Regions from separate parts of the Homo sapiens genome. Here regions 1, 2 and 4 are each linked to region 3. The links are contacts of gene promoters, found by promoter capture Hi-C in blood cells and fetal thymus (Javierre and others, 2016). All regions are on one chromosome and are shown on one strand. The core of a region is centred on a gene start or on the middle of the fragment in contact, and the rest is flanking DNA. Distances in the headings are between cores, read along the strand shown. Region 1 holds the start of ZNF135 (zinc finger protein 135). Region 2 holds the start of ZNF606 (zinc finger protein 606). Region 3 holds the start of ZNF835 (zinc finger protein 835). Region 4 holds the start of ZNF256 (zinc finger protein 256).

Region 1 (5,160 bases), core at 1,653-4,152, 1.4 Mb before region 3:
ATCAGTGAGGAGCAAGCCCTCACCAAACACTGAATTTGCTGACACCTTGATCTTAGGCTTCCCAGCCTCCAGAACCATGAGCAACAAATATCTATTGTTTAAAATTACCCAGTCTAAGGTATTTTAGCAGCCCTAACAGACTAAGACAGAAGTGCAGAGGGAGGTGTTGAAGAAGGAGGGGCTCCTAACAGCTCTACAGAACACCCTGGTCTACCCTGGGATTCTGTAGTCTTCAGACCCAGTATGTTTCCCTCACCTCATGTTTCTCTGCTTCTGTTGATTTCAGGTTGAGTCTGAGACTTGCTAATATTGGTCTTAATTGATATTTCCTACATTAAAACAGTCAGGTTCTTAAAGCCCAAGACATACAGCCCCAGGCATTTGCTTTTAAAGCTCAGTCCTATAAATATTTAACCTGGTAGAATCAGAATCCGTGTCAGGGACAGATCAACAGATAGGACATGGGTGTGGCCTTACCCACAGAGACCAGAAGCCTGAAGGTGTCCAGCATTACATCACGGTACAGGGTCCTCTGGGCAGGCTTCAGCTGCCCCCACTCCTCCTGGCTGAAGCCCACTACCACGTCCTCAAACGTCACTTGCTCCTGAAACATCACACGAGTGTCCTCAGCCAAGCCAACCCTGGCACTGGCTGCTGGTGGGGTAGCTGGTAAATGCCAGCCAGGCTGGGTCGGATGGAGTTCCCTTTGGTCTGGGGTTTTGGGTCAGGTTTTTCTGTGGGGCCTGGATGGGTGCCCTGCTGATGAGGTGGAGGATCTTAGAATCTAAGGCATCATGCCCGTTTCCAATAATTTGTCTCTTGAAATAAGAAATGGAGGGAGCCAGCAATAAAGGAGTGGACCAGCCCAGCATGGTGTCGCATGCCCGTGGTCCCAGCTGCTTAACAGGCTGAGGTGGGAGGATCACTTGAGCACGTAAGTTTGAAGCACAGTGAGCCATGATTGCATCACTGCACTTCAGCCTAGGGGATAAACAAAGTTATAAAGCTAGTAGCAGAAGTCTAAAGACTGAATCTGGGTGGTTTTTTTTTTCCCCCGAGACGGAGTCTCGCTTTGTCGCCCAGGCTAGAGTGCAGTGGCATGATCTTGGCTCACTGCAAGCTCCGCCTCCTGGGTTCACGCCATTCTCCTGCCTCAGCCTCTCGAGTAGCTGGGACTACAGGCGCCCGCCACCCCCCCGGCTAATTTTTTTTTGTATTTTTAGTAGAGACGGGGTTTCACCGTGTTCGCCAGGATGGTCTCGATCTCCTGACCTCGTGATCCGCCCACCTCGGCCTCCCAAAGTGCTGGGATTACAGGTGCGAGCCACCGCGCCCGGCCAAATCTGGGTTTGTTTTTTAATTTTTTAGAGACAGGGTTCCACTGTCATTCAGGCTGGAGTGCAGTGGCACATCATGGCTCACTGCAGCCTCCAACTCCTGGGCTCAAGCAATCCTCCCCCATAGCTGGGATTACAGCTACAAGCCATCGCACCAGTCCCCTTGTACGGGTTTTCTGACATTCCTACAGGAGGCTGGTTTCTTCTGGTGGCTTATGGGTGGGGTTAATGTCATCATAAAAAGGCGAGTTCCGCCCCCTTGGCCTCCATGACGTCTGAGGAAGCGGCACTCGATGCGCCATCTTGGAGCGCAGAGCATGCTAAGGCCTTCAACTTCAGACTGCAGAGCCGGGGCACCTACAATTTTCTGACATCACCCAGCCTCAGGTATGCAATGACGGCCGCACAAACATAAAGCCCACTCAGACAGGGACCCGTGCCCGCTGACCTCCAGCGCGGCGTGGGCGGTCCTTTCAGAGGCAGGCTGTGGTTGGGGAGCTTGGCGCGGACTTTAGGAGGCCGGGTGTGCAGGTAGAGGCCGGACACGAGTAGAGGCTAGATGTGCAAATAGAGGCCGGGCACGAGTAGAGGCCGGGCACCAGTAGAGGCCAGGTGCGCGAGTAGAGGCCAGTTGTGCGAGTAGAGGCCGGGCACGAGTAGGGGCCGGGCACGCAAGTAGGGGCCGGGCACAAGGAGGAGGCTGAGCGCGAGTAGGGACGGGGTGCAAAGAGGAGGCCGGGCGTGAGAAGGCCGCGCGCGAGGAGGCCGGGCACGAGGTGGAGGACACGCGCAAGGAGGCCGAGATTCTCACCGGGTCTGTGGAGACGCGCACCCCAGGGGTCATGCCCTGGCTTCTGGCAGGAACGGCTGGCCCTGCTCTGTGGGAAAGGGGAGGTGAGCAGCTGGGGCAGGCAGAGGCGGTGCTCAGGTCCCCAAGCCGGGGAACTGCGCCAGAGCCTGGGGAGCTCCGCGGAGAGCCGTCCAGGGCCCCGCGTACCCGTTTAAGCGCCTGCTGTGTGTGGGGCGGCCCTCCGCTCGGAGAAGGGCAGCCTAGGGTTTTCCCGCCTGTCTGAGGGAAGCTGAAGGCCTGGCGGGTGCGGACACATATCTGCTGCGCAGACTCTGAGCCTTAACGCTACAGTGACAAGGGCCGGGTGGTTGCGGTCCCCTGGCCCTGGGCACTATGCCTCAGTTTCTCTCTTCCATCAACAAAGGTGGCGGCCCAGTGCCCGGTGTGGGGCAGAGGTGGGGCCAGGGGCGGGGCGCGCGTTCCCTCAGGGGCCGTCGGAGCAGCTCCTGTCCAGCTGGGCGTTGGGCCCCGCCCTCCTCTCAGACTAGGGATGCCCCGCAAAGCCTGCCCCCGCCAGCCCCGAAACGGCCTTCCCCAGGCCCCGGGCAGCAAAACGGACTCCACACAGACGCGCGCTGCTGGAAACTCGCCCCGCCAGGGCCTCAGGAAGATCCCCGGACCCCCCGCACCCGGCCCGGCCCGGCCCGGCCTGGCCTCCCCTCCCCCTCCTCGCCGGCCTAGCTCACCCTCCTGACTGCGAGACAAAGGCCGCGGCACCGGCAGCCGACACTGCGCCGGCGCGAGCCTAACTCCATTTCCCAGAGAGCCGCGCGCGCATTTCCGGCCGCCCTCCCCCACCTCGCTCTCGCCCTTGGCGTTCGTGAGCTCTCAGTGCTGCTGGAGCTGGAGTGACTGGGCCTGGTGAAACAGGGCGCGCGGGGTGCCTGGGCATCAACGCGGGATAAGTGCCGCTTGGAACGCCGTGAGCTCCCGGCGCGACCACACGGGCTTTCGTGTTGGAAACTCTACCGTCAGTTTTACTGCTGCAAACAAAGCAATGATTTTTTCAAAACACATACTTTCAACCAAAACATTCACCAAGATCGCACACACGGGAGTCTTTGCATTTTCCACACTGAGGCAGCCATGGAGACTTCACACTGTATTTATTACATGGTTATAAGGAACATCACGTGCAAGACACTAACAATTATGACGACTTTGGACATTGCTAGGTAATTGTCAAAATTGTGCATTTGAACAGCAGCAAAATATTCAAAGCTGGTGTGCCCTCGCTGACACGAAATGAATTGTCATTTTCTGAACATTCACCAAAGCCTGCCAGGCGCTAGGCCTAGGTTCAGCAGCACACAATAGTGAAGCCCCCATTCAAGCGGGCTTCGTTTCACCAGCGTACGTCACACGTCCGTGGAGCAGCGAGACCAGAGGAGCTGGGAAAGCCAGGGCTGAGCCTTGTGCTTTTGCCCTTTTAAGGGAGGACAGATTAATTCCAATCAGCCTGGGCTTGGGAGCTGTATTTGAAGCAGAGGAAAAGTTTTAAGACGGGCATTTTTTTTTCTTTGACTGAAACAACTCTGAAAACAGCAGAGAACACAATACGAATTCTCGTACCACACACAGACACTTGCAAAGATTTGGCTGGTTAACACACAAGTTAAGACTTTAAATTTCATAAGCCCTAAAACAGTGGCAATTATGAAGAGATATAATGGCTCAAAATCATAATGCACTGATGTAAACAAAGCAAAGGCAAGCTTCTTGGCTTTTAAGGGCGTCCTGTACATTCCAAGTACTGTAAAGCCCCACATTTGTGACCGTCGCACTGAAAGCCAGCCTGCTTTTCACTCTACAGCAGTAAAGAGGCTTTCCATTATACATAAAATGCCGTTTTTCAGTTCTCGAACTCACAAACCCAAATGCCACAAAACATCTTTTTGTGTATTTTTTCTTTCACAAAATGTATACTCTTGCCCCCCACCCCCACCCCCAACCGTTTCCTTTTACTGGATCAAAAGGTATGAACACACAACTCATGGTGAAGTCTTTTTCCCAAGCGGTCTGATAGTCCTGGTGAGAAGCTGTCAGTGGTGCCACACTGAGCCTGCTCAGCCCTGATGGTGGCCAGGCGGCCCTGCCCAGCTCCCTCAAACTTGCCCCTCTGTTTCCTCCCTCAGACCTTCTGATCCTCTGTTTTTCTCAGCCAGGTTTCTAAACCGTACATGCTTTTGCAGGGGCGGGCTCTTTCTACAGGGGCAAGTGCTGCTTGGCTCCAGCCAAGTGGGGTCGTGCGGACTGGCAAGCCCAGCGTCCCAGGTCTGGATTTCTCTAAAGAACCCAGAGATCAGGATTTCTATGTGAAATCTCTTGATTTTTAAAAGCTGGTAGGGATTTCAAAGGCTTTAATAACACTCTACCAGTCAAATAAGATGAGCTGGAGGCTACTCCAGTGCCACCCTTGCTGTGGTCTGAACCTCCTGCTGTCTCTTGTAACCACTGGCTGGGCCCCTCTCAGCTCCTTCTTGGCTTCCTGTACGAATCTCCAAGCAGAGCATTGCTGGTTGCCTCTCTGTGGCCTGGAACAGGACCCCCCACCATGAGCAGGTGGGCTGCACATCAGTACAGCTTCCAAGCAATCCTGCAATCACAGCATGGATAGCAGAACTGTGTCATGCTGTATGTTAATGTTCAAAAAGTTAATCTGTTCAACACATACATTTAAAATATACTGTAACAGTTACAGCTCCCTGGACATATTTCTCCCTTTAAAAAAAAAATCTTTTTGACAGCTTCAAAACCTGGCAGTGTCCAGGCCTCCTCTGACCCAAGAGACCCTGGCTGCCAGGGAGAAAGGTGGCGTCTGAGACTCCGGTCTTCCAGAGCGTGAAGTGCCCAGGGCTGGGCTCACAGCTCCTGTGACAAGGGCTGGAGGACAGGAGACTGGGGCACATCGTGATGGGGGTGTTGGAGTCTTTGGGGGGTGCTGGCAGAGGAAGGCACAGGGCAAGGGAGGCG
Region 2 (5,568 bases), core at 2,354-4,853, 1.3 Mb before region 3:
GGAGTAGAATCTCTAGGTCATAGTACAGGTTTATGTATAATTTTATAAGAAATTGTCAAACTTTTTTCCAAAGTGACTGTACCACATTATACTCCCATCAGCAGGGTATGAGAATTCCAGTTGGCACCATGTCGTCCCATTTGATGCTGTATTTTTATTTTTGGTCATTCTAGAGGATGTGTAGTGGCAATGTCCTTTATTTTAGGATAAGAATCAGCAATAATAAGAAAAGAATCTATGTAGCAATTACCTTGCCCTTTGTTTATACAGAACAGTTCCAGCTCCTTTACTGGACTAAGATCGAAAACCCCAACTCTCATTGCATTTACCTTACCCCTTCCTATCTCGGGGGTTGTCTTAGTCCATTTGTGCTGCTGTAACAGAATAGCTGAGACTGCGTAATTTACAAAGAAATGTACTGCCTTACGGTCTGGAGGTTGGGAAGTCCAACATCAAGGTGCTCACATATTTGGCGATGATGAGTTCAAGATGGTGCCTTGGACACTGCATCCTCACCTGACAGAAGGTAAAGGGCAGGGTGGTGGAGGGTGGGGGTGGGGGGAGAGAAAGAAAGAGAGAGAGAGAAAGAGAATGCAAGCACATGCAGAATCTCTCCATGAACCTTTTACAATGGCATTGTTGACGAAGAGTCAAACTCTGTAAAATATTTGAAGAGATTTACTCTGAGCCAAATATGGTGACCAGTGGCCCCTGACGCAGCTCTCAGGAGATCCTGAGGACATGCCCAGGGTGGTTAGGGTTCAGCTTGCTTTTATACATCTTAGGGAGACATGAGACATCAATCAATACATATAAGATGTATACTGGTACAGAAAGTTTCCAGGTTATAGGCAGATTTAAAGATTTCTGATTGCCAATTGATTTAAAGAGTTATTGTCAATAGAAAGGAATGTCTGGGGTTGTGGAACTCAAGGTTTTACCAAGCAGATGAAACCTCCGGAGATAACAGACTGTAAATGTTTCTTATCAGACTTAAAGAGTCTGTTCTATCACTAATTCTAGAAGGGAGGAGGGTATAATGAGGCAAGTCCAGCTTCTGCTTCCCATCATGGCCCGAACTCATTTTTCAAATTAACTTTGGAATGCCCTTGGCTGAGAGGAGGGGTCTATTCATATGGTTGGGGGGTGGGGGGCTTAGAATTTTATTTTTTGGTTTACAACATTAATCCATTCATGACAGCAGAGCCTTATGACCTCCATAAATCCCATTAGACCCTGCCTCCCAACACTACTGCACTGGGGAGTAAGTTTCAACATGAATTTTGGAGAGGATAAAAACATTCAAATCATAGCAGGGGTGTTTTTCTTCATCTGGTTTCCTGACACCTTTAGGTCAAAGGTATCTCTCTCATTTGAGTTCCCTCTCAAAAGTGAACAGAGCTACCTCATCTCTCTTTAGAATATGAATTCTAGTCTTATTTTATATGAACATTGAGGTTTGTGTAGCAGGTATTTGGTGATTGCATATCTTAAAACTTGGCTTCTGTACTGTATGAGACTATCAGTTACGATACGAAGAAAATAAAAAGAGAGTAATACAATTGAGAATTAGGGAGATGAGTCACAGCTGGCTGTTACCAGGATGTGACATCTGTGCTGTGATCTGGATGAAAAAAAGAAAACCCTGGGGCTGTACAAGGAAGAAGATTCCAGGAAGAGGAAACAATACGTACAAAGGCCCTGAAGCAGGAATGGACTTACCCTGTTTGAGGAGTGGCTGGGGTCCAGAAATGGGCAGGAATGACAGGAGATGAGCTTGAGGGACTGAGGTGGGGTGTGGGATAGGACAGAGGCCAGTCCTGCTGAGTTTTCTAAGCTGTGAGCTGGAATTTGGATTTTACTTTAATTACTTGGGAAGCCAGTGCAGAATGTGAGGCAAGGACCTGATGTGAGATCCTAAAAGTGCCCTTGGCTGCCTGCTGGAGGATGAGCTGTAGGGGGCTGGAGTGGAAGTGGAGAGACACTCTCTTCTTACTTCTGTCACTCTTCCTTCTCCAGCCTCTCTTTCTCTGCTTGATCCTGAGATGGAAATTGTGGCTGTACCATCCATAGATTGCTTTCCTCTCAGTGCCCACTCTGACTGGGTTCACCTTCCTGCCAGCTGGGGCCTGTCCCAACACCTTGCCCCTTCCACCTTACCTCTCTCATGGTCCTCTCCCTCGAATTCAGCCTGTCCTACTTGAAATTTTCCTCTCCCTTGAATTCAGCCTGTCCTACTTGAACTTTTCCTCTCCCTCTGAAAGGGCTACTCCCCTTTGCCCACCCACAGTGAGTGCCAACACCACCCAACAACAAAAGCCCAACCCACAGGCCAGCTTTTTAAAATGATCCTCCATTACTAGTGGAAATATCTTCAAAATCTCTCTTGCCCACTGCTCACTCAAGTCTAGCTTCCTAAATGGCCATGCTTTCTTTGGTATCACCACCTACAGTCCCTCAGTCCCTTTTTTTGAGACAGAGTCTTGCCCTGCTGCCCAGGCTGGAGTGCAATGGCTTGATCTCGGCTTACTGTAGCCTCCGCTTCCCGGGTTCAAGCGATTCTCCTGCCTCAGCCTCCCAAGTAGCTGGGTACAGGTGCCCTCCACCAAGCCCGGCTAATTTTTGGTATTTTTAGTAGAGACGAGGTTTTATCATGTTGCCCAGACTGGTCTCGGAACTCCTGACCTCAGGCGATCCACCTGCCTTGGCCTCCCAAAGTGCTGGGATTACAGCTGTGAGCCACCGCGCCCGGCCCGTTTTTGTTTGTTTTAATGCCGGGTCTTGCTCTGTTGCCCAGGCTGAAGTGCAGTGGTGCGATCATAGCTCACTGCAACCTTGACCTCCCAGGCTCAAGCAATCCTTCCACCGCAACCTCCTAAGTAGCGGGGACTACAGGCGCGCGCCATCACACCGGGCTAATTTTTGTATTTTTTTTGTAGAGATGTGGTCTCGCTATGTTGCCCAGGGTGGTGTCGAACTCCTGAACTCAACTGATCCTCCCGCCACAGCTTCCCGAAGTGCTGGGACTACAGGAATGAGCCACCGCTCCCGAACCGCTCCATGCATATCGATAGAGGAAAACTCACAGGGTGCGTCGCTGGTAACCCATGCTCCCATAAAGCCTGGCCTCTGGAAAGAGACTTGGGAACGAGCCCTGACGTTCTCAGCCGTCGAGCTTCACAGAGAAGGGTAGCTCGAATTAGGTTCCTTATCTTAAAGAGAATAACAGCAGTCACTTTCTCACAATCTTGCGAACGCCAAATGGAAGGATCCCTCGAGAGCGCTGAGAACTCGCCGAGCTCCTCCCGGGAAACCCGGTACCACGAGGCGCCATTTTGCGGATGGGCAAACCGAGGCCCGCGGGGCCGCGACTTACCCAGGCCTTTTTGCAGTGGGAGGCGACGGTGGAGGAGGGTGGTCTGGGACCGGGACAACAAAGTCCATCCTGCCGCCGGCTTCGACGCAGGTGCCAGAAAGGTCCCAACCCCGCCCAGGCAGGGCGAGGCGGCGCGGCCCAGGAACCTGTCATGGCGGCGCCGCTGCCCGACGCCGGAAGTGCCCGCCTGGAACTACAGCTCCCAGCAGACCCCGCGGCGCGCTCCGGTCGACGCCGGGGAAGCAGCCGCCATTGTCCGCGGCTGAGGTGAGGCCTTTGCTCAGGCTGTGGGGCCGCCGTAGCTGCGGGGCTTGGGGGGTCAGGAGAGCCGGCTGGGAGAGGCGGCGTCAGGGTGGGTCCTGCGCCTGCCCTTTCCGCGCCGGCTTTGCGCCGTCGTTGCCGTCGGTTCTCCAGCCAGCAGCCTGCCTCCGGCCTCCCGCCTCCGGGCGTTCTTCGTTTTCTGGTCGGACGGGCCTGGGTGAACTCTGCTGCACGTCGGCTCCGCGGGCCTTTGTCCCCGAGGCCGCGCCGGGAGCTCCCAAGCGCACTCCTGGGCCGGACCTCGGCGCGGGACAAAAGCCAAACGCCCCAGGCGGGCAGACCCCGATCCTGCTGCGCCGCCTTCAAGGGGGACCGCCGGCCGCGAGCCAGGTGAGGCCGGGACGAGCTTTTGCAGCGTCGCGGCCGCGTCGGTCTTGAGGAGGAAATTTGGGTCGGGAGCTCTGGAAGCAGGTGATAAGGATGCTTCTGAGGCCATTGATGGGACGAATAACCCCGTTCGTTCCCCAGCCGTCGTTTCTCCCCCTGCCAGTTCACACAAAGCACTGTGAAGGACGTCAGACCTGGGTTGGAAACAGCTCCGGGTTCCCTTAAACATGCAGTGACGGCGGCGGTCACTGTCAAGTTGCAAATAATGGTGCAAAGTACGGTTTGCATTCTGCGTTTTCGCGCTGATTCCGGTGCTCCTGAGGCCCACTGTGTGTTCTAGTGCTTTATACACATACCCAGGAATCCATTCGAGAGGTTGCTGACTTGTACAAAGATCTGGAACCTGAGGAGTTAGGGGTCTGGGCGCCAGGCCCATCTCTAAGTCCTCCACACACACACAAGCTTAGGCTTAGTAAATCTTGGAGGTGAATTTTTTTTGGAGGTGGGATTAAATTTGCATAACATAATGTTCACTTTAAGCACTTAAAAGTGTGCAATTCACCGGTTTTATTGTATATTAATAAAGTTGTGCAATCATCCCCATTATCTAATTTTAGAACATTTCATCACCCCACAAAGAAACCCTTGTTCCCCTTAAGCAGTCACTCCCCATTTCATTTTTCCCCCAGCTCTAGGCAACCACTAATATATGAGGATTGCAAGTTGATTTTACAATAATTGTCAGATTAATCCAAAAGTTCCATCTGTGTTGTGACTGGCTGTCTCTTGGGAATAGCTGACAAATTTGTACCCTCTCATTCAGGATCATGCTCTTTTTTCCAGCTTATGCAAATTACCTTTCATTTCTCTCCAGGAATTGTGTTACTTTTTTGACATGTAAATTCTCTTTTCTTACGATGCTCCTTACAAGTTTTTTTGTTGCTTCGGTGGATGGATTCCCTTCTTTGTTCCCACTTGGTCTTCTGTGAGAAAGGACTAGTTTTGTCTTTTTTCACTTTTGTCACTAGGTTGGGATTTGCTGTGTTCCTGGGCAGGTGCCTGGTCAATCAGTCCTCGGGATGGCAGCCATCAACCCGTGGGCCTCCTGGGGTGAGTCCAAGTTGTGTTTCTCCTGGGCCTCCCCTATCATTAGCTGCTGCAGTCATGGGTCAGAGCTGGTGATGGGCTGAGGACTTTTGAGGATGGAAGGGGGTCTGTCTATCTTGGTACAAAATTAGAACTGATTGGTGGTAAAGGAGGAAAATTGTTGGCATAAAAGACACTAACTTTTATGTTTTATAGTCATCTCCTGAGAGGTGTCATTAGTTTTAAGGGATTTTTCTGGTGGTTTGTGGGGTTTCCTAAACAACAGTGATACATATAATAAAATATTGTCTCTACTGCTCTCATATATATTTTTACCTTTATTGTTTTTACTTATATAGCATTGGTTGGTAATTTTAAAACGGTGTTAATTAATAGTGACTCACCTGTGCATTGCCTGTGTGAATCCAGCTTATGTTGCATTTTTTTTACACACCCTT
Region 3 (5,861 bases), core at 2,102-4,601:
TTATCCTCCAGGAGCTTCCATCTCCCTGTGTGTCAAATGTGCGCTGCAATGTGCTTGACATGTAAAGAGACCATCTATCAGGTGCTAAGGCTACTGCAGCAAAGCACCGCCAACCTGTGGCTGCAGCAACAGACATTTATCGCCTCACGCTTCTGGAGGCTGGAAATCTGAAATCAGGGTGTAGGCAGGGATGGTTCCTTCTAAGAGCCATGAAGAAGAATTTGCTCCAGGCCTCTCTCCCTGGTTTGCAGATGGCGGCCTTCTCCCTGTGCCTCTACATATCATGTTCTCTCTATGCGTGTCTCTGCGTGCAAATGCACCCTTTTTATAAGGACAGCTGTCATTTTGGGTTATGGCCCACCCTATTTACTCATTTTAACTTTATTACCTCTGTAAAGAACCTGTCTCCAAATAAAGTCACATTCTGAGGAATAGGGGGTTAGCATTCCAACATATATTTGGGAGGGGGGTGAGCATAAATCAACCCCCAACAGGTAAATGTGGCTTTCTAAAGAAAATTGTCTTAAAAACCATATTTAAAGGAAATGAATATTTGAGTTGTTTCTGTTGTCCATCCTTTGAGGAAAATGTCCCTTCTCATGAAGCTTCCAGAAGGAAGAGGGAAGCACAGAATGCCTCTTGAGGTCTACGAATAAGTAAAATATGAACTGTAAATAAAGCATGTGTCATGGTTTAAGGGCAGCCGTGGGGCTACATAAAGTAATGTGGAATCTCACAATCAATGGCATGTTGGTTTAGTGAAATGCATTTTTTTTCCCATTCTATCTTCACAGATTTCTCTGCTTTTCCAATTATCTAAAAATGATCTCATGCCTATGTTTCCAATGGCCAAGGGAATAATTTAGGAAGGCTAACAGAATTCCTTCAGAGCAGGCACCTTAAAATAATGCCGGCCAATAGTAAATGCCATGTGCATGTCAACTATTAAAATTATTTAAGGCCGAGGTGGAAGGATTGGAGTTCAAGACTAGCCAGGGCAACATAGCGACACCTCATCTCTACAAAAAATAAAAGTTAAAAAAAAGTTAGCCAGTGTGGTGGCACATGCCTGCAATCTCAGCTACTCAGGAGGCTAAGATGGGAGGATCACTAGAGTTGGGGAGGTCGAGGATGCAGTGAGCCGTGATTGTACCACTGCACTCCAGCCTGTGCAACAAAGCGAAACTGTTTCTAAAAAATAAAACTCTCTCCTGCCTCTGCCAGGAGAGAGCTTGTTCCTCCAACCCCAGGAGGCCAGGCAAGCATGGACAGGAGCCAAGGGAGCAGGGTCATGAACTTTTTCATCTTTGCAAAGTGGGCACTTGGCATCAGGGTCCCATCACCAGAAAGCACCAAAGCCCCTGGCACCCCACCCACTCCATCCTACCCAGGGACCCCAAGTAGGCAACTGCTATGGCAGTGGGTCCAGCCCAGGCCGGCACTGCCAGCCTCCTCTCCCTGCAGTAGGCACCAGCTCTACCTCCCCCGGCAGGCAATGTCCTGGCTTCTCAGCCCAGCACCATCTGTTCCCCTAGACTTCTCAGGGGCCAGCCCAGTCTGGGCCACCCTTTCCCTCATCCTCGGCTCCCACACAGGTGACAGGCCCAGCAGATAGCTTCTCTCTGGGAAAGGTTGGATGCTGCCTTACATCCCCTTCTATCCCTCCTCCCATCCACACACACAGGCACCCACCCACACCAGGTCTGCTTGTTTCTCACATGTAGGGAGAGGGGGGGAGACCAACCCCTTTGTGTCTTTTGAAATACGAAGAAAAATGTGTGTTCAGGAGCATGACTCCAGTGCTGGGCTCTTGGGCCCAGTTCAGTCTGTCTTGTCTCAAATCTAGGCACTTTTGCTTCAATTTTATTTTTTTTAAGAAAACAAAAACAGAAATCTGCACTAATTTACCTGGTTCTTAGGAAAACTTTTTTTTATTTTTTACATTTTTTGGTGTCCGTTTGTATTGAATAATTTGCTACATTTGTAAAATGTAAGAGGTATATATAATATATGTATATTTCTAACGTAAAAACAATTTTTTTCTTTTCAAGATTTTTTCTTAAAAAGATGAGAGAAACATATTTTTTCAGGAAAAACAAACTTTAAAAAAAAAAGAGGAGAAATAAAACCTTTTCTCCCCTTTCCCCATCCTCTATCTATCCCTGTTTCCCAGGAACAAATCAAAAGGTGGATTATCTTCTGAAGAATGGAAACTGTTAGTCCAGAATGATGTCTTTTTCTCAATGCAGTGAGTTATAGATTCTCTAGTTTTCTCCCTAGGGATGGGAAGGGGGCATTGACGCAAGCCTGGAGAGGAGCCCGGGGAGCAGGGTCATGAAGTTTTTTCTTCAGTGAAGGAGGAATACAATCAAGGGTTTTGTATTCAGAATGTTGTGCAATATTTTGGAATAGGACATTGGTGTGTTTAGAGATTTTAGTTTAAAAACAAAACAAAAAGATTGATCAAATCTGTACAGTTTCTATTGTTCCAGATTTTTTAAAGTTTGTATTAAAAGCATGATACATAATAAAAATAAATAAATAAATAAAACTAAAAAGTAAAATGAAATTCTTCATCTATGTTAATGGATTTGCCACCTTCTTTGCCATAGACTGGAATGACATCAGCTACCTGAGACCAAAATAAAAGTGTGGGTTGCAAACCCTGGCACCTACCTTTTTAGATTCCGCAGCCTGCAGTAGGGACTTAGCCTGTCTGAACCTCAGCTTCCTTCTTTCTTCTTCTTTTTTTTTGAGACGAAGTCTCGCTCTGTCACCCAGGCTGGAGTGCAGTGGTGCGATCTCAGCTCACTGCAACCCTCGCCTCCCAGGTTCAAGCCATTCTCCCGCCTCAGCCTTCCAAGTAGCTGGAAGTGCATGCCACCATGCTCGGCTAATTTTTGTATTTTTAGTAGAGACGGGGGTTTCGCCATATTGGCCAGGCTGGTCTCGAACTCCTGACCTCAGGTGATCCACCCGCCTCGGCCTCCCTAAGCGCTGGGATGACAGGTGCCCGGACTCAAGTTCCTTCTTTCTAAGCCTGTGGGCTCGGCCTCATCCCCTGAGCAAGAAAAAAGTCCCACCCCTGAGTTACTGGAAGCGCCCACCGCCATGCACTGAGGCTGTAGTGGGCGGGGCTCGGGGCAGCAGCCCGGCGCTCCTCGGGCCCCCAGGGGTCAGCGCCCTGCGGACCTAGCGTGTGCAGACGCTTAGCCTTCTGGGAGTTGTAGTTTCGATGACCCAGGCTTTGCAAGCTTTAGTCGCGGTGCCGGCGAGCGCGCAGCGCCCCCTGGGAGTCGTAGTTCCTAAGAACCAGGCGGGCCCGATGCGCAGGCGCAGTCCACCCCGGCCTGGTGCGCGGGCTCCTCCGCAGCAGCAGAAGTCTTGACCTTAGCTCGTCTAAGGAAGGAGGCACCAGGGTCTGCGTTGGCCCAGGAGGACCCGAGACTGAGTAGAAGCGGAGCCGACTGCACCAGGCTAGGAGGGGGCCGGCCAGCGCGTTCGAAGGTGATACCGGGAGGCGAGAGCAACGGTGTGTAGTGTGCGCGTGTTCCTGCAGGTGTGTGACCGCGTGTGAGCCCGTCCCCGAGTGCCATTGTGTCTGCACCTGTTCACTTAGCGGTGTCAGCCCGTATAGGTGTGTGACTGCCTGTGAGCCCGTCCCTGAGTAACACAGCGTCTGCACCTGGTCACTCGACGGTACCAGCAGGTGCAGGTGTGTGACTGCCTGTGAGCCTGTCACTGCATCTGCACCTGCTTACTCGGCGGTGCCAGCCCGTCACTGTGTCTGTACCTGCTCACTTGGCGGTGCCAGGCCGTGCAGGTGTGTGACTGGCTGTGAGCCTGTCCCTGAGTGTCACAGCGTCTGCACCTGCTCACTCGACGGTACCAGCAGGTGCAGGTGTGTGACTGCCTGTGAGCCCGTCCCTGAGTGTCACAGCGTCTGCCCCTGCTCACTTGGCGGTGCCAGCCCATCACTGTGTCTGTACCTGCTCACTCGGCGGTGCCAGGCCTTGCAGGTGTGTGACTGCCTGTGAGCCCGTCCCCGAGTGTCACTGTGTCTGCACCTGCTCACTCAGTGGTGCCAGCCCAGGCAGGTGACTGCAGGTAAAGGCATGTAACACTTTATCGGTGTGTTATGTGCTCGTTCATGTGAAGCGGTGTCTGCATATCACAGCATGTCACATACACGTGTGGCTGCCTTTGGGCAAGTCTGAAAGTTCTCCTGGATGTGAGGTGTGTGACCCCACGTGTGCATGTCTGGGTGTGCCGCCGTGTAGGCTGGCTCGGCCCGTGTGCCTGCCAGCACAATGATGGGTGACCTGGCTGTGCGAGCCTGTAGAGTGCCGTGCTGTCTGAAGTGTGTGCATCTGCACATGATGGAGACGCTGCACATGTGGGCTTTGGCTATGCTGGAGCTCTATCCACCGAGTGTGACTGCACATGTGTCCAGCCATCCCCTGTGGGTGTGTCCCAGTAATGGCCGGCCTGTGTGGAGCAGGTGGCATGTGTGACCTTGTGCGTCTCTGTGCACCTCTTCACACAGGGAGCTACGTGTGGGGCTGGGTGTGTGTGTAGCTACGTGTGCCCGGGACCCTGTGTGCATGTGTGAGTGTGGCTGCAGGTGATGGCTTCCCACCTGCCTCCTTGCATGGGGGTTAGGAGGGCGACTGTGTGTCCCTGGATATGGGTTTGGGTGTCTCTGCATGTCTGTGTGTGTCTGGGCAGGTATGATTGTGTATGACCCTGTGTGTGTCAGAGTGTGATGTAATGCATGTGTCTTCCTGTGATCTTGTGATATAATAAGAAATATATGTTTAATCTTTATCCCCAGCTCCTGGTACCAGAGCCCCTAAAACCCTTGGAATTTCCTGAGTGACAGGGGTAGAAGGAGTGTCTTCTGCAACTCTTAATAAGCCCCCTGCAACCACACCTGTGTTTATGCTAATGGAGGACTCCTGATAGGCCCCCAAGTACATTTATGCTAATGGAGGACTCCTGATAGGCCCCCAAGTACATTTATGCTAATGGAGGACTCCTGATAGGCCCCCAAGTACATTTATGCTAATGGAGGACTCCTGGTAGGCCCCCAAGTACATTTATGCTAATGGAGGACTCCTGATAGGCCCCCAAGTACATTTATGCTAATGGAGGACTCCTGATAGGCCCCCAAGTACATTTATGCTAATGGAGGACTCCTGATAGGCCCCCAAGTACATTTATGCTAATGGAGGACTCCTGGTAGGCCCCCAAGTACATTTATGCTAATGGAGGACTCCTGATAGGCCCCCAAGTACATTTATGCTAATGGAGGACTCCTGATAGGCCCCCAAGTACATTTATGCTAATGGAGGACTCCTGGTAGACCCCCAAGTACATTTATGCTAATGGAGGACTCCTGATAGGCCCCCAAGTACATTTATGCTAATGGAGGACTCCTGATAGGCCCCCAAGTACATTTATGCTAATGGAGGACTCCTGGTAGGCCCCCAAGTACATTTATGCTAATGGAGGACTCCTGATAGGCCCCCAAGTACATTTATGCTAATGGAGGACTCCTGGTAGACCCCCAAGTACATTTATGCTAATGGAGGACTCCTGATAGGCCCCTAGGATGGGCTGGTTGCCACGGGAGCTAGCCCTGATGAGCATTCCAGCCTTCAGCCAGCCCCTACCTCCTGGGAGGGGAGAGGGCTGGAAGTTGAGTTCATCACCGATGGCCAGTGTCATCACACCTATGTCAGTCACGCCCGTGTCATGGAACCCCCATAACCACCCTAAACTTAGGGTTTGCCGAGCTCTGGGGCTGTCGAGCACCCAGAGAGGGCATGGTGCTCTGAGCTCCTCCTTATACCTTACCC
Region 4 (5,871 bases), core at 2,447-4,946, 1.3 Mb before region 3:
CAGGCCATTACTGAGATGCAGCTAGCCCACACTCCAGGTGGACCATGGCTTGAGACAGCCACCAGAACAAGACACGCAGACCTAGTACTCAGCACCCCTCCTGCACACCTCCCAGTCCAAGTTCACATCCTTGGACTCAAAAACTCCGTTTTGAGCGAAACTCCGTCTCAAAAAACAAACAAAAACCAAAACAAAAGAGTTCTGTGAGACCTTCACTTTTTTCACCATCCGATATTTCCCAAACACGATTCTGCCACCATTTTTGAATGACTACATAGTCATTATAATGGCAGCAGTGGCTGATCTGGAGGGGCCGCTGTGATGATGCCGGCTGCAAATGGGGAGGCACGGCCAGGGCTGCATGCTCCGTGGAGCCCACGGGGACTGGGAACAGGTGATCCCAGTGGGAGCCTCGAGCCATACCGAGTTGTCAGGACGGGAGCCCTGTGCTCCCAGGCGCAGCTGCAGCCACCTAGTCGTGGCTCCAGACAGGGCATCCCTGCACTCTTGGGGACCTGGGAAGCACCCTTTTCCCACAGGCCCAGAAGTGCCTGCTCCCACTCCCTGGCCTCTCCCCACTCTCAGCACCTGCTCCACGGCAGAGCAAAGTTGTGGACATGTCAAGATAGCCAAACCTGGGCGCTATCACAACCCAGCCAAATGTGTGTGCCCTCGGGGCAGTGACGACATGCCAGCCCCCCACCATCTCGATTTCCTCCAGAAACTGCTTTTGAGGCTGAAACTTTGGGCACCAAGAAGCATGGGAAGGAGGCCGGGTGGTGGGAGGGGGGCGGCTGAGAGTGGCTCGGGGCAGGCCTGCGGGCAACCTTCAGCATGGACAGCCTGGGCGTCATGGACAGCATGTTGATGGCCATGAAAGGCAGACAGGTTCCTACGTGGGAAGGGGTGGGTTTTCTGTGAAACCCCACCTTCAAGCCACGAATGGCCTGAAGCCTGGAGGCCACGCTGCCAGTTCCAGGTGGAGTCTGTGACCCAGAGAGAGAAATTCCTTGACGCCTTTCGGCCAATGGTATGGTGTTTTTCCCAGGCCCGCCCATGACTGCCCATGGGCCAATCAGCATGCACTTCCTACCACCCATGGACCAATGAGCACACACTTTCTCCATTCTGAGCCCATAAAAAACCTGTAGACTCAGCCAGACTCAGACATCGGAGACTATCTGTATGCAGGTGTGAGCTACTCCCTTCAGGTTTCCTGAGGGCTGTTGGGTTGTCCAATAAAACCCTTCTCTGCCTTGCTCACCCTCCAGTTGTCTGCATAACCTCATTCTTCCTGGACGTGGGATAAGAACTTGGGGGACAAGAACTTGGGACCTAACGAACAGCAGGAGAGAAAGGGGCTGTAACACATTCCTGGCTGAGTAGCCATGCTTCTGGGCTGCATGAGTGAAAAATGGCGACTCTTCTGGAGGCCCAGACTTTGGGATTCCCCGAGCCAGAGCTGTAACACTATAGCCCTCCTGCCCTCAGCCAGCACTGGGTGGCCGCCCCCCACGATGGGAAGCAGCAGCGAGCCAGAGCAGGGCAGCGGGACTGAAAGAGCTATATCACAAACAAGCTGAAAACACACCCCACCCAAAACACACCTCCCCGCTTGCCAGGCTGCAAGCAACGGGAAGGAGAGAAGAGCTGTGGCTCTTCCGGGAGCCCAGGCCTCGAGACTCCGGAGCCAGGGCTGTGACATGCTGCAACACCCTCTTTGGGGTTCTGCTGTTCTTGGTGTCTCCGAGCTTTCCGGCGCCACCATTTTTCCCTCGTCTAGATGCTGGTGCCTGCAGCAGAAGCCGCCTGCAGTATGTCTGGTCCAGTCGCAGACTTGCAAGGAGCCGGCGCCTGTGCCAGCGCCTGGAGCTGCCCGCCCCGCCGCAGCAGCCAGCGTGCCTGGCTGTGTGCACTGGCTGGACCCTTCACTTGCTCGCTCACACACCCCTTGCGGCTCCGCGCCTGGCTCGCCCTTGGTAGGTGTGGGATCCAGGTGCAGCCTGCTGGGCCGAGTGGGTGGAACAAGCCCAGCGGGTGTGAGCAAAACTCAAGCAGAGGCGCGACCACAGAGGTTTCTGGCTGGCGAAGCGACACCCATTATTAGTAGCTTTCTGTAATTTGTATTTTACAATTCTTTTTCTGATATCGTATCAATTTTTTATGCAGAACAGCCCTATAATAATGGGGGCAAAGGGCCGGGCACAGTGGCTCACGCCTGTAATCCCAGCACTTTGGGAGGCCGAGGTGGGTGGATCACCTGAGGTCAGGAGTTCGAGACCAGCCTGGCCAATATGGCGAAACTCCGTCTCTACTAAAAATACAAATACAAAAAAAAAAAAAAAAAAAAAAGATTAGCCGGGTACGGTGGCGGGCGCCTGTAATTCCAGCTACTTGGGAAGCTGAGGCAGGAGAATCGCTTGAACCCGGGAGACAGAGGTTGTGGTGAGCCGAGATCGCACCATTGCACTCCAGCCTGGGCAACAAGAGCGTAACTAATGGGGGCAAAGATAATCATTTCAGCGTTGAGAAGAGATCTTGAATTTAAGATACACCCTACATTTGGGATTCAGAGCACCCTTTGTTCCACCTGTTAATGCTCTAGCTAGCCATCATGCCTTTTCAAAATACCATTCCTTTTGTTGTTCTCTTTCTGAGCTTGATGTCAAATTATTAAAAAGAAGTGAATATAAAGGCATGGAGAAAGTGAGATTAGATTCATGCAAGTGTTGCTTAGTGAATTGGACACAATGTTTGACTACACAGGCACGAGAGGGACCCAGAGACAGGGATCTACTTATGTCCTGCTGCTGCAGGGTGCCTCCGCATCCCACCTTCATCCTCTTTGTCATGAACCTGTGTGGAGTGTTTTTTTTCTTGTCCCTAATCAAACATACAGAGACTGAGAAAACTGACTCCAGTGCTTGAGTGCATGCGTTTGAATTGCAACATAGTCTTTTTTTTTTTTTTTTTTTTTTTTTTTTTTTGAGACAGTGGCTCGCTCTTTCCCCCAGGCTGGAGTGCAGTGGCGCGATCTCGGCTCACTGCAAGCTCTGCCTCCCGGGTTCAAGCTATTTTCCTGCCTCAGCCTCCGGAGTAGCTGGGGACTACAGGCGCCCGCCACCACACCCAGCTAATTTTTCTTTTTTTTTTTTTTTTTGTGGTATTTTTTGTATTTTAGAGACGGGGTTTCGCTGAGTTAGCCAGGATGGTCTCGATCTCCTGACCTCGTGATCCGCCCGCCTCGACCTCCCAAAGTGCTGGAATTACAGGCGTGAGCCACCGCGCCCGGCCGCAACATAGTCATATTTATTTGCTTTCTCAACCAGTGGATATATTTTGTGACTGACTGACTGTATGTAATAATATGTGCATCTGGATATGTGCCTCTGGGAACACATGAAATGACACGTCTCCAAACAAACACTGGCAGACAGCAATCGGTAGAAACCTGGGTACGTCTCCTTTAAGAAAGAACGAAGCCTCGCCTCCGCCCCAACCTGGAGTGTCCATTTCCCAGCGCCCCCTACAGGGGTTTGGCCTTTACTTCCGGAAGGAGGTGGAGGCGACCCTCACTCTCCCGCCGTGCGCCTGTGGGAACATTACCCAGAATGGCCTGCGTTGGGCGACGGCGACCTTCAGCCAATGAGGCCTCCGAAAGGTGGTGTTTCCGTAAGCGCACGCGCGGTCGCGGCGGGACTTCCGTTGTCCTCCTTGTGGCGGTCGTTTTGGCATTTGTCTGGACTGATTACTTGGTAGAAAGCCCCGGAGCGCTGGGTCAGCATCATCCGTGACTGACTGAGAAGGCGCGAGAGGAGTCTTCCCCGCTGCACAGAGGCGTGGCTGAGGCTCGGCGGCGCCCAGGGTACCCAGGCCCGGCCCGGAATAAGGACATCCTCTCTGGCCCCGCTCCGCTCACAGAGTCAGATGGCGGCGGCCGAGCTGACGGCCCCGGCCCAGGTATGTGCCGCGTCCTCTGGGCCTTCCCCGCCCTCCCCACGCTAGTCCTAGCACCCCCGAGGGCGCTTGCTCGCGGCCCTGCTGCCCAGGACAGGACACGGGGGCTCGCCGGAGGGGCTCCCGTTTCCAACACCTGGTGTGCTAGGGAAGGGAGGGCGCGACTGGCAAGGAGCCCCTGATGAGAGGCGCCACTGAGCCCTGGGGCACAGAGGTGACACAGCCATTGCGAGGGCACCCGGCTCCAAGGCCAGGCATGGGGCTACGGGGTGGCTTGAGCCCATCTAATACCGCCATAGATGCTCTTCTCTGAGGCCTGGCTCTTTCTACGTTTCCCTTGGCTGTAAAGGGTTATGAAATCTACGCCAGGAAGGGGAGGGTTTCCCAGTCTCTCACTAGCCCTAACTCCCACCCACAGGTTCTCTGGGTTGTGGAGTGCCATTCCCCCAGCCCTTAGTTCTGAAGACCTTGGGTGAACCCCAAGCCCAGGGTCCTATGTCCATGTTAGCCGGTATATAGAGTTGTTCCAATTTCTGGCAGCCATGTGAACGGGTGTGGAAAGTTTTTCCAGAAAGGTACAAGATGTGCAAATGCTTAGGTGCAGTACGGAGCTGGGTGCATTTATGAAGCCACAAGTCTCCTTGCTTTCTGGTGGGAAGCAAAGAACAGGAGGATAGGCGTCAGGACTGCAGTGGCTGCCTGAGAAGTTGAGTGTGTTTTCAGGAGGTAATAGCAAGTTTGAATCAGAAAAAAGAGGTAATTTACCAAGGTCTTCACAGGCTTCATCTGTGTGCACAGTGGGGCACAAACTGGGGGGTTGAGGGAGGAGGAAGGAAAATCAGGGTAGACTAGTCCAAGTGAGGGTTACTGGCCCAGGATCGTGATTTAGGAGATGTGGTTAGATTCCGGATGTGTGGTTTCAAAAGGGACAACTAAATTACATAATGTAGGTGGTGAGGGAGTGAAACAGAGGGTTCAGAGAAGACTCCAGGGTTTTTGGTATTAGCAGCTGTAGGGAAAGAAGTTTCATCAACTAAGATGAACAAATTGGCAATAGGAGTAATATTCACTAGGGATATCAGGTTTGTTTATGCCATGCTAAGAGTCAGATCTTTCAGAGCCTACTAAATGGAGGCGTTAAGTGGGCAGATGAACGTGCCGGTCTTGAAATCTAGGGAGTGGTTCAGGGTGCAGATATTCAAGATGTGGCTGTTGTGCGCACCAAGGTTAGTGAGCTGTGGGTCACAGTTAGGCGGGGCAAGCTCCAGGTTTTGGTTGTAAAGCTGTTAGTGGGCCAAGACTGGGAGGATGATGATAGAGTAAGTGGTCATGAAGGCAAGGTATGTAAAAGACAGTGTAGTTTGGCAGTGGCCACGGCTCCCAAGAGAAGAATGGACATGAGATGGATGCAAACGCATAGGACACTCAGGCCAAAACTCGTGCTTATTCACCACTTTATGGGTATCCAGGATTTTGTGATAACTTGATGGGGCCTGGGTGTTTCATTCAGGCTGGAAGATTAAGTTAGTGTCATGTGGTCATTTGTGAGAGTCATTGTGTGTGAGATGAACGACCAGTGAGGCTGGGATTTAAATGAGCTTTAGGTGGATATATGACTCTCAAGGGGATGGTAAGTGCAGCACAGAAGTGGAATAGGGCCATGGTTATCTGTGATTCACCTGTGGTTCTGTGTGGCTATGTCTGAGGCAAGGAATACAGCCTGGCAGGGAGGCCTTCAAAGAAATTTTTGAGGCTGCTTCCACTAGTGTAAGCTGTGGGAAGTCTGGGATTTTGGATCCTGTTTATATCCACACTCTGGATGCTGCCTGCCAAGTTGCGGTATAAGGCCGGAAATTAAGGCCCAGTATGATATGTCGCCTTGACATCTGATGAAAACGATACAGCCTTAGATGG

What was found. Contacts are between HindIII fragments. The CHiCAGO score rates a contact against its expected background, and 5 or more counts as called.
Region 1: a contact is called between the fragment with the promoter of ZNF135 here and the fragment with the promoter of ZNF835 in region 3, in 4 of 17 cell types (non-activated CD4 T cells, erythroblasts, activated CD4 T cells and 1 more). The highest score is 10.3, in non-activated CD4 T cells.
Region 2: a contact is called between the fragment with the promoter of ZNF606 here and the fragment with the promoter of ZNF835 in region 3, in 4 of 17 cell types (non-activated CD4 T cells, erythroblasts, total B cells and 1 more). The highest score is 8.6, in non-activated CD4 T cells.
Region 4: a contact is called between the fragment with the promoter of ZNF256 here and the fragment with the promoter of ZNF835 in region 3, in 4 of 17 cell types (neutrophils, activated CD4 T cells, total B cells and 1 more). The highest score is 8.7, in neutrophils.

The regions. Positions count from the first base shown.
Region 1 is chr19:58,057,024-58,062,183 of GRCh38, reverse strand. ZNF135 (zinc finger protein 135) reads right to left here and starts at 2,902. Exons shown (of 5, transcript NM_001289401.2): 1 at 2,874-2,902; 2 at 2,149-2,215; 3 at 478-604. The coding sequence starts at 2,181. The HindIII fragment of the contact is 3,956 bases long and covers 1-3,904 here.
Region 2 is chr19:58,000,855-58,006,422 of GRCh38, reverse strand. ZNF606 (zinc finger protein 606) reads left to right here and starts at 3,603. Exons shown (of 7, transcript NM_001348022.3): 1 at 3,603-4,027; 2 at 5,053-5,134. The coding sequence starts at 5,104. ZNF606-AS1 (ZNF606 antisense RNA 1) reads right to left here and starts at 3,529. Exons shown (of 4, transcript NR_036508.1): 1 at 3,377-3,529; 2 at 3,087-3,212; 3 at 1,723-2,040; 4 at 1-516. RefSeq lists an enhancer at 3,252-3,671. The HindIII fragment of the contact is 14,498 bases long and covers 1-4,488 here.
Region 3 is chr19:56,669,247-56,675,107 of GRCh38, reverse strand. It overlaps ZNF835 (zinc finger protein 835), which reads left to right and starts at 3,351. Exons shown (of 2, transcript NM_001005850.3): 1 at 3,351-3,532. LOC105372473 (a long non-coding RNA gene) reads right to left here and starts at 3,129. Exons shown (of 4, transcript XR_936110.4): 1 at 2,677-3,129. The HindIII fragment of the contact is 4,177 bases long and covers 3,257-5,861 here.
Region 4 is chr19:57,945,531-57,951,401 of GRCh38, reverse strand. ZNF256 (zinc finger protein 256) reads left to right here and starts at 3,696. Exons shown (of 3, transcript NM_005773.3): 1 at 3,696-3,960. The coding sequence starts at 3,928. RefSeq lists enhancers at 3,458-3,547, 3,618-3,717, 4,208-4,287. The HindIII fragment of the contact is 12,388 bases long and covers 1-5,871 here.